Linked DNA regions of Homo sapiens: region 1 is linked to region 2. Evidence: promoter capture Hi-C in 16 types of primary human blood cells and fetal thymus (Javierre and others, 2016). All regions are on one chromosome and are shown on one strand. The core of a region is centred on a gene start or on the middle of the fragment in contact, and the rest is flanking DNA. Distances in the headings are between cores, read along the strand shown.

Region 1 (4,619 bases), core at 1,066-3,565, 300 kb after region 2:
CGAGACCAGCCTGGCCAACATAGTGAAACCCCATCTCTACAAAAATATTAAAAAAAAAAAAATAGCTGGGCGTGGTGGCATGCGCCTGTAGTCCCAGCTACTCAAGAGGCTGAGGCAGGAGAATCACTTGAACCAGGGAGGCAGAGATCACAGTGAGCCACAGCACTCCAGCCTGGACAACAGAGTGAGACTCCACCTCAGAAAAAAAAAAAAAAAGAGTTCCATTCAGTAATCCATAAGACATTTTCATGTTCCTGATAACTAGTAAATTTAACAAAACCTAACGATTCTCTAGAATTCCCTAAGCCTTAACATCATACAAGCGGCTACTCCCAACTACCCATTTCAGCCTGTCCCACACTAATGCCCAAACTCCTTTGGTCAAGTTATTCTAATTAAGAAATTATTCTTCAATCCGTCTATAAATTTACAGTAAACACTTCCCGAAACAAAGTCATAAGTCATGATCAAAATGCATTACACTTCATTAGTATTTTCCTTCTGCATATCAATTATTTCTATTCAATTCAAAAAAAGGTACCGAAATTCAATGCTGAGCTAGAGATGCAAACACAAATAAGGTTCTCTAATTTGGAAAGCTTCCCAAAATTTAAAATAGAGATTTTCACACAGCATTCCTAACTTTTGTTTGTTTTGCCTGTGTGGAAAATTACCTTTCACCTGAAATTCAAACTAGCTAAGCAACCTGAATGGAAAGAAAAACCTCGCAGATAATATTTCTTTACTTGAAAATAACCATCTCCACCTCTGACCTGTGTATACGGGATCAAATTGGTATGCAGAAGTTGGCTTGATGGCGGGAATCTTACCCAGATTTTGGATTAAATCCATTATAGGTATAAAATAAAGTAGGAGTAAAGTGGGGCAGGATTCCTTTCATTTCTAGGGCTTTCAGTTGACATACCTGTAAAATGGACATGCTATGCACAGCCTGCCTCAGAAGAGTAGGAGGATGGCATACTATATAATTGATAGAGTGCTATGAGCTTCACGATTAAATGGAAATACTGTTTTTATAGAACCAGAGTGAACCTGAGCATAGAAAACTCTCCAAGGGCCATCGCTGTGACATTACCGCTAAAACTCAGTGACCTTCATCAATTCACTTGTAAACAAGCAATATATTGAGCAAGTCAAAGGAAAGGCAGCAACAATTCAAGATACTTCTTTATAAGTAAATCAAATTACGTAATTAATAGCCCAGGATTTACCTGCAAACTATTACTGCCTGACTAGCAGGTGCATCCCCAAAGCCTCGAGTACAGAGACTGTTTTTAGAGAGCCCCCCCTTTTTTAAATGTGAATATTGCTTTTAAAAATTAGAAAAAGAAAAAAATCACAATTCTACTCCCACCCATGGCACAGTGACAGAAACAAGGTCCCACCCCCACAATCCTTTCAAACCTGCACAGGCATTCCTCACGAACACTCCTCCCCCTCATTCCTACCTCACCGCTCCCCACTTCAGCCCAGACAAAGCTGAGTTACTCGGCTGGGTCTACCTGTCACTTAAGAAAAAGCCCCCAAATAGATTCACGCTAAATGCTGCTTTTAATTTTTTAAATAGCAAATAAGTAAATAAATAATGCTATCGTGTAGATTACACGGCCAAACGCCTGTTCTCAGAAAACATGTAATTAACACGACCCAAGTGAAGACGCCTTTCTGGCTTAGGGAAAGAAAAAAAAGAAGCCAGCCAGCTTATCGCTCCCTTTCAGTCGGTTCTTTTCCCCGGGGAGCCGGACTCTGACTCAACTCCGCAGTTTTTCCTCCACCTGTCGGTTCTCCCCGCTCTGGGTCTGCCCCGCCGCCGCCCCCGCCCGGAGTCCCGCGCGTCAACAGGGGTCTCCAGGGGTCCTCAGGGTCCCGCCCGAGGCGGCCCCGCCCCTGCCCCGGCCCCGCCCCCACCTCCTCACAAGGTGCCCGCCGCGGGCTCCCAGGCTGAGGCGCCTAGAGGCCGGCAGGAGGCTCCGGAGGACCGCGGCACCGCTCGGCCCGGTCGCCGGCGCAGGGAGCAGCTTCGGGGGCCGACCCCACCGCCCGAGCCTAGCCCTGGGCTCCGACAGGCGCTCCCCAGAGGCGCCCCATTACCTGCTCTGGGCTGCCGCGGTCCGCGGGCAGGAGGCGCACTCGCTCTGGCCCCTGCAGCCCCGGGCCCGGAGGCAAGGAGGCAGCGACCGCCACCGCCGCAGAGGACAATCGGGAGCCAGCGGGCTCGGCACCGCCGCGGCGGGCGCAGAACGCACGAGCCCAGTGGGAGCCCGGCCCCCGCCTCCAGCCCGGCTAGTAACCAACACGGCCCCCACCCTCGGAGGGGCGGGACCGCGGTTGGAGGGGCGGGGCGGGGCTGCACCGCCCGCGGGTAAGAGGGGCCTGCTGATAGGCTGCGAAGGCGATAGGCGTCTCAGACTTGAAGACGCCTCTCCAGCAGAACTCCCTCATTGGTCGGCAAGAGAAAACAAAGCTGGGCTCTGATTGGTGACAGCTCTGTAGCTCCTCCTCATACCCGCAGTCCCCGCAAGTTCCACCCCTGCCCGCCCGGTTCGCTCGCCCTTGGTTCCCACTCCCAGGTGGCTGCAGACTGGAGTGTGTTTCATGGACGAGCAACCTCCCTGAGGAGAACCCCGGATACGCAGGTTCATTCGCCAGATGCGAGTTTTCTTAAGCCGCTGCGATTCTCTGATTTCAGTATGAACTTGGTGAATAACGTAATCTTTAACTTCCTTTGGATTCAGACAAGTCTCCTAGGTTTAAAAATGCTGCATAAGATTGAGAGGGATATTGTTATGCACGAAAAAAGACATAAGGTGTTTTCACCTTTGGCGACACTGTAGGTGACTTTTTCTTATTACCTTTTTGTGTTCCATATTGAACATGTACTACATGATTAGAAAAAAAAATTCTTAAATAGAAAAATGAGTAGGGTGCGGAGAATGGTAAAGACAAACTTTAAGGAAATCCAGAGAACTGATTCTTTCACAATAGAAGAAAATACAGTAAACATGCTTAATATCTGAGGGCTACCCCGAAAAAACATGAACTGGTATCAGCGCCCTTCAGCTCTCTTAAAGAACTTTACATATGTGACCGAGGTGCCCCCATACTCCTTCCTATCATGTAACCAACACATAATGTGGACAGCACTACACTGCAAACAGAATTACAGGAAGACTCTTATAGGAAGAATTAGAATCCAAAGTACACAATCAATAAAGCTTTAGAAAAAGGGGTAGTAAAAAGCAGAAGACAAAAAAAAATCAGGTAATATAAATTGGAAAGCTCAGCTGATGGAGGGAATCATCAGAAAAAAAATAATGTGACAACACTTCAAGATGTGATAGAGACTTTGAATGGAAAGCTGAAGGGAGAGGAAGGGGATTGAGATAAGGATCAATGACCTGCAGTTAATATGAGCTCTCAGAACACATCCCCCAGAACTGGTGTCAGCCTAGAAGGCAAGAAGCATTTCTCACCTAGGGACCACTCTCACTTAACTCTCTCTAGCTGCCTTAACATTCTGTTTGTTCTTGTCATTCTCGCAAAGTTCTAAAACAGGCTATTTGAAATTAAGCACTTCCCCCCAGCAACTCCGTGAATTACGTAATAGTGAAAAATGGAGATAGACAAAAAGCAAACCTGAGGAAGGAAAGGAATGTTAAGGTAAACATAAACTTAAAGAGAAGTAAGGGCAAAACACCTGATAGAAAGAAGACAAGAAATTCTTTTTTCTCTCTTACTTCCTGAGAATAAAGTAAAGGTCTTTGGAGGACAGAATAACCTTATTGCCTAACAAAAAGAGTTTTTACCAAACCTTTCTAATAATAACTGTAATTCTAAACTGTAGTCTAAAAATACGTGTCCTAAAGTAAGTACTTTGAGCAAATAGTTTTGAGATCTAATATTTTTACATTGTGTAAGGAAAAGAAGAGGAACTTAGCCTAGTATGAACAAACTGTAGGGAATACCCTTCAAAAGTTTCTTCTACAATAACACCTGAAATTCCATCACTAACATTCTTTCACTGGGATTAAATAATGTATGTCTAAGATTATTCTTTTATTCATTTACTCATCAAACGTAATCAATATTAATCATCAAATACTAGATACTGCAATGAACGAGGCTTTCTACTAAGCACTCAGAGTATAGCCTTGAACAAGACAGACTTGCAGCTGTTTTTATCAGAAGATGGACAATGATCCAATAAAAAGATAAACTTCCAGACCGGGATCAGGGCAAAGAAGAAAACAGTGACCAGAGGGATGGGAGACACACTTAATTTTGGGAAAGGAGAAAAATGCTTTAAGGAGAAATGATCTAAGAGAAATGCTCTAAGATTTGAGGCACCACCTAAATAAGAAAACACCAACTTAGCAAAACTCCAGGGCAGATAAAATAGCAAGAACAAAGGACTTGAAGTAGGAAGAAAAGTGATGTATAGCAGGAACAGAGAGAAAGCCAGCATGGGTATCATGGTGCATAAGGAGAGTGCTACTAGACAGGTTGGAGAAGGAGGTGAGGACCTCGTAGGCAATGGTAACTTTGTATTTTGTTACAAGGATTCCTGACGGGCAACATCGAGTTGCTGATAGTGGAGT
Region 2 (4,576 bases), core at 1,089-3,588:
TTTTGGAAAATGACACCATTGATGGCAATGTTATTTGAGAAATTTAAGTTGCAATGGCACATCTGTATCAGTCTGCATTTGGGGCTGCTGTGTTCACAGTCATTCTGTGTAAGGCTGGACATCTGACTACTTCCCTATATATTCTAGTGTAGTGGTACTTGAGCGTTTACATGCCAATCTTTTCTTACAATTATTTTCTTTCATTTTACAGTTAGCACACTATCAATATTTAAAACTATATTAAATATGTAAGATTATAATCTATGATATTGATTTCAGGATAGCAAAGCAGCCTTACAACATATATGCTATAAAAACCAAGTACTGGATCAGATAGGGTGGAGAACAACTGATCCAGACATATATACCAAAGTGGTCATGAAATAAAGTGCAGAAATTAGTGCACAAATTTGTTCTGGGTGTTTGTTTTAGTATTCTAGCATTTTGTTTCTATTGCTAACCGATGAGAAATGCTTTAGATTTAAACACATAAACATGTTCTGATGTGTATGTGTGAGACTCTTGAATTTCCCATTGTTGTGTAAAATAAGTGCAAATCAGTGTAAAATAGTGTGAAATAAGTGCAAATAGCTTTATCTTATACAGAAAGGCTTAGGTGAAAGTTCTGTCTGTCTTTAATCTTAAGTATAACATTTGTTTTGGTAATCTTATAAAGATTGCTTCTTGCACATTTTTAAAGAAAAAATGCGAAATTAAATAGATTATGTAACGCTATGGTAGTCAACATACCATATAGTAACTTCTTGAAGGACCCTTAACACAGAATTAAGAAATGCAAAATCGTTATTTTCGTCAAGATAAATTTTGACAGAAATGTAACATTTGAATCTATTCAAATTGTATTTCCAAGTCTAGTGAACCGTAGCAATGCACAAGTTTTATTCAAGAAGGTTGGTGAGTTTAAGAAAACCTCAGGGTGGCCTATGACAATCCAGAAGGCAAGATCAATGTTATTAGAAAATAAATAAATAAATAAATGGTGTTCAAAAATGGTCGGCATAACTCAAAACTAAGATTTTAAAATCAAGACCAGTTGCTCCCCGGTTTCTGCCCATTGCCAAGCTCTTTTGGCTTAAGAACCATAGTTAAAATGAATCCATGTAAATACACAGCACACACCTTTGAAGTAAAGAAAGTAAGTTTAAAGATTAAAAGGAAAAAAGTTTTGGTTACGTGTTTACATAAACTGGGATGTTTACATAAACTGGGAATCACTTAGCACTCATTTTTCTCTTTATCCAATAGATACCACAGATTGTTTTTCTTTCTAAAGGTCAATTTCAAGCTTCCAGCATCATTAGTGAAATGAAACCCATTCGGTAATCACATCGTTAACACTTAAACAGAAGCACAACCGAATTCTTTAGGGGGCTACGGAAAGGCAGCCATCAGCTCTGAGATCTATGAAATGTGGTTGGTAACATCCACGGGGAGTCCGCGCATACACTGCTTTCTGAGAATGCAGAAGTTACTCAGTAAGACCGACAGAAAATCGAACTTTTAGACATGACATGAACAGGGCCCTAAGTAAAACCAAAGCTAAGCCTAGTGTGGGATGACGGCCCCCACCAGACTCGTTACAAGAAGGGGGCGTCAGAGCTGAGACCCTAAGTTTCCAGGAATGGATTCGGTAAGGGGACGAGGAGGGAAGGGACGGCGAAAACCACGCTGGGAGCGGGAGGCAGAGCTGCAAAGGGCGGAGGAGAAAGACGGGCTGGGGGAAGGAGAGGCAGGGAAGCGGCGGGAGAAGTGGAGAGCGGATCCGGGAGGTGATGGGGCCGAGGTAGTGCAGAGAGGGGCGCAGGGACTGAGGAGCAGACGGTCCCCAACCTAGGGCCGAGGCAGGGTCTCGCGGGGAGGAAGGAGTGAGATGGGGCTGGGAGAGAGAAGGGAAGGGGGCGGGTCTTGGTCCCCGGGAGGGAAAGGGGAGCAGGCGAGAGCGGCAGCGGCGGGGCCAGAGAGCCGCCTCTGTTTCCCGATCCACGCGGGCGGCTGCAGAACCCCTGCGGGGGTGAGCGTGGAGACCCCCAGCCGCACTCACCTGCAGCACCCTGCCCCCCGCAGTCGGCGCCCGCCTGTTGCTAGGACGCGGGTCAACACTGCGCGCCCTGCGGCCGCGCACGCCGGCGCCCTTGTGGGAGGCCTACAGGGCCCGTGCCCTCCCCCGGGCGCCGCCGCCGCCGCCTTCCGCTCCCAGCCTCACCCGGCCGCGACCGCAGCCCAGTCCGTTACCCTGGTCTCGGGACCTCCGCGCATCCAAGATTCCCGCGGACCCGTTGCACCGTATGCCCGCGCCAGAGACGCTCTGCGCCCGCGCTGGGTTCCACCCGCCCCGGCCACCTGCTGCTTTCCGCTCGGCCCCTCCCGGGAAACACTTTTATTCAACTTTGCATCTCCCTTTCTCAAACACTTTTATGCAACTCCCGAGTGTGCACCCTAACTCACTCCACGCGGTGGGAAAGGTTGACTTTGACAGAGGTCGTGAGCAGTTGCGGGGTCGGCGGCAAGTTAGCAGAAAACTTAAAATGGAGCAGAAAGGAAGCAGAAAATATTCCTTAGAAACCCCTTTTTACATTTTTCCATAGGCTTCCAGACAAGTGCGTTGTATGTACCTGAAATCTTCACTGAGTACCCCCAAATAGCATAGGGCTTCTCCTAGGATATTTGAGGCTTACATGTTTCTCTCCAAAAAAACAAATATGGTAGAATACTCTGATACTCACCGGGAAAGCAGAAAGCGCTCTTCAATAGGGCAGAGGATCGGAGTGAAATGAAAACATGTCCCCCATCTCTTTTTTTAAATGGCCTTTACCTTTGTCCATTAAGATGGTTTTGACCCCACCTCTAGACACCCTACCAGCAAGAGCCCCAACTGGAACACCAGTGAGGGATAAAGGAGTGGGAATATTGAGGTGGGGGGGGATGGGGAAGAATGCACTATCTTGGGGTGGGGGGACACGGTGTTTAAGGACCAATGCCGGAGCACTTAGGATGATGGGGTGTTTAGGAATTAAAACTGGATTCTTTTCCGGATGCCAAAGAGGCAAATGTGGAATGATGTTAGGATATCACCTGTCATAATATTATACGGATTCAGCTCAAAGCAGAACCTTTCTGCAAACACGTAGGGATATGAGGTATAGATATTTGTCCTTTGTTTTGGGTTTTTTGGAGGGTGGGGGACGAAGTCTGGCTCTATCACCCAGGCTGGAGTGCAGTGGCACGATCTCGGCTCACCGCAACCTCTGCCTCCCATCTCGGCTCACCGCAACCTCTGCCTCCCGGGTTCAAGAGATCCTCCCCCCTCAGCTTCCTGAGTAGCTGGGATTACAAGAATGCGCCGCCATGCCCGGCTAATTTTTGTACTTTTAGTAGAGACGAAGTTTCACCATGTTGGCCAGGTGGGTCTTGAACTCCTGACCTCAAGTGATCCACCCACCTCGGCCTCCCAAAGTGCTAGGATTACAGGCATGAGCCACCATGCCTGGCCTGTTTTGGGTTCTTTTCTTCTCTTTTTGAAAGTGCGAAAGTTGTTAGGAATGGAATAGTTTCACCTAAAGGAGATACTACCTGCAGAGAAGCTTAGACTTGCAACCAGTGAGAAAGGGGCTTATGCTAATAGGTATACAGAGAAGCCCTTTTAAAAATGGGTGGATTACAGTCTGAGACAACAGCATCACACCTGTGGCGGTAATGCAGGTCACAACCTGGTGAGGAGCAGAGGGCATCCTTCGGAAGGATCCTGGAGTAGTCCCAGTCCTGGAAGCAAGGAAGCTTCTGTGGGTACTTTAGTTCCTCTGCACATTTTAATCAGCTGTATGACATAAGGGAGCATTACTGGGTCCAATGTGGATGCCAGCCAGAGATCTTCCAAGTTCAGGACATTTCACCTTGGTTTGCAAAGCTGGAAAAAGCCAGAACCCACCAAGATCTGAGCAACTATGTCGTTGTTTGCCAAATTCATGCCAAGTTGCTTAATCTGATGCCAAAATGTGAATTTATTTTACCGGATATTTTCCAAGCAAAAATAACTTAATAATATTTAAATCTGAAGAAGTCCCAGTCGCCTCTTTCCAATTTTTCCTTGTCGTGATGAAACACTACCTGGGCCCAGTCACTCCCTGAAGGATTTATCATGACTTGTTTTTTTTTTTTCTTTTTTTTTTTTTTGAGACGAGGTCTCATTCTGTCACCCAGGCTGGAGTGCAGAGTGCAGTGACATAATCATAAGCATAGCTCACTGCAGCCTCTGATTCCTGGGCTCAAGTGATCCTCCAGCCATGGCCTCCGAAAGCACTGGGATTACAGCCATGAACCACTGTGCCTGGCCATAACTTGTCTTTGCCTTGTTGCCCATCTGCTACCCCTACAAGGTAAGCTTTATGAAAATAGGGAGCTTTTCTGCCTCCTTCAAGTCTGTACTCCTAAGATCTAGAAGGATGACTGGCACGTAGAAGGAGCTAAATTCATGAATCGCCTAGTCAAAGATGCCTTGCTTCCTGACACTCTTCACCAAGCACCAGAAAGGCAAGGCCCACATTTTCTTAGGGTTAAT

Evidence for each region. The method cuts DNA at HindIII sites, captures the fragments that hold promoters and counts their contacts. A CHiCAGO score of 5 or more calls a contact.
Region 1: the fragment with the promoter of MPP7 here is called in contact with the fragment with the promoter of ODAD2 in region 2 in 5 of 17 cell types (endothelial precursors, naive CD8 T cells, M2 macrophages and 2 more); the score reaches 8.4 in endothelial precursors.

What each region holds. Positions count from the first base shown.
Region 1 is chr10:28,300,749-28,305,367 of GRCh38, forward strand. MPP7 (MAGUK p55 scaffold protein 7) reads right to left here and starts at 2,316. Exons shown (of 17, transcript NM_001318170.2): 1 at 2,113-2,316. It overlaps MPP7-DT (MPP7 divergent transcript), which reads left to right and starts at 2,421. Exons shown (of 2, transcript XR_930772.3): 1 at 2,421-3,681. RefSeq lists a silencer at 1,863-2,502. The HindIII fragment of the contact is 2,637 bases long and covers 598-3,234 here.
Region 2 is chr10:27,996,741-28,001,316 of GRCh38, forward strand. It overlaps ODAD2 (outer dynein arm docking complex subunit 2), which reads right to left and starts at 2,339. Exons shown (of 20, transcript NM_018076.5): 1 at 2,254-2,339. The HindIII fragment of the contact is 2,296 bases long and covers 1,305-3,600 here.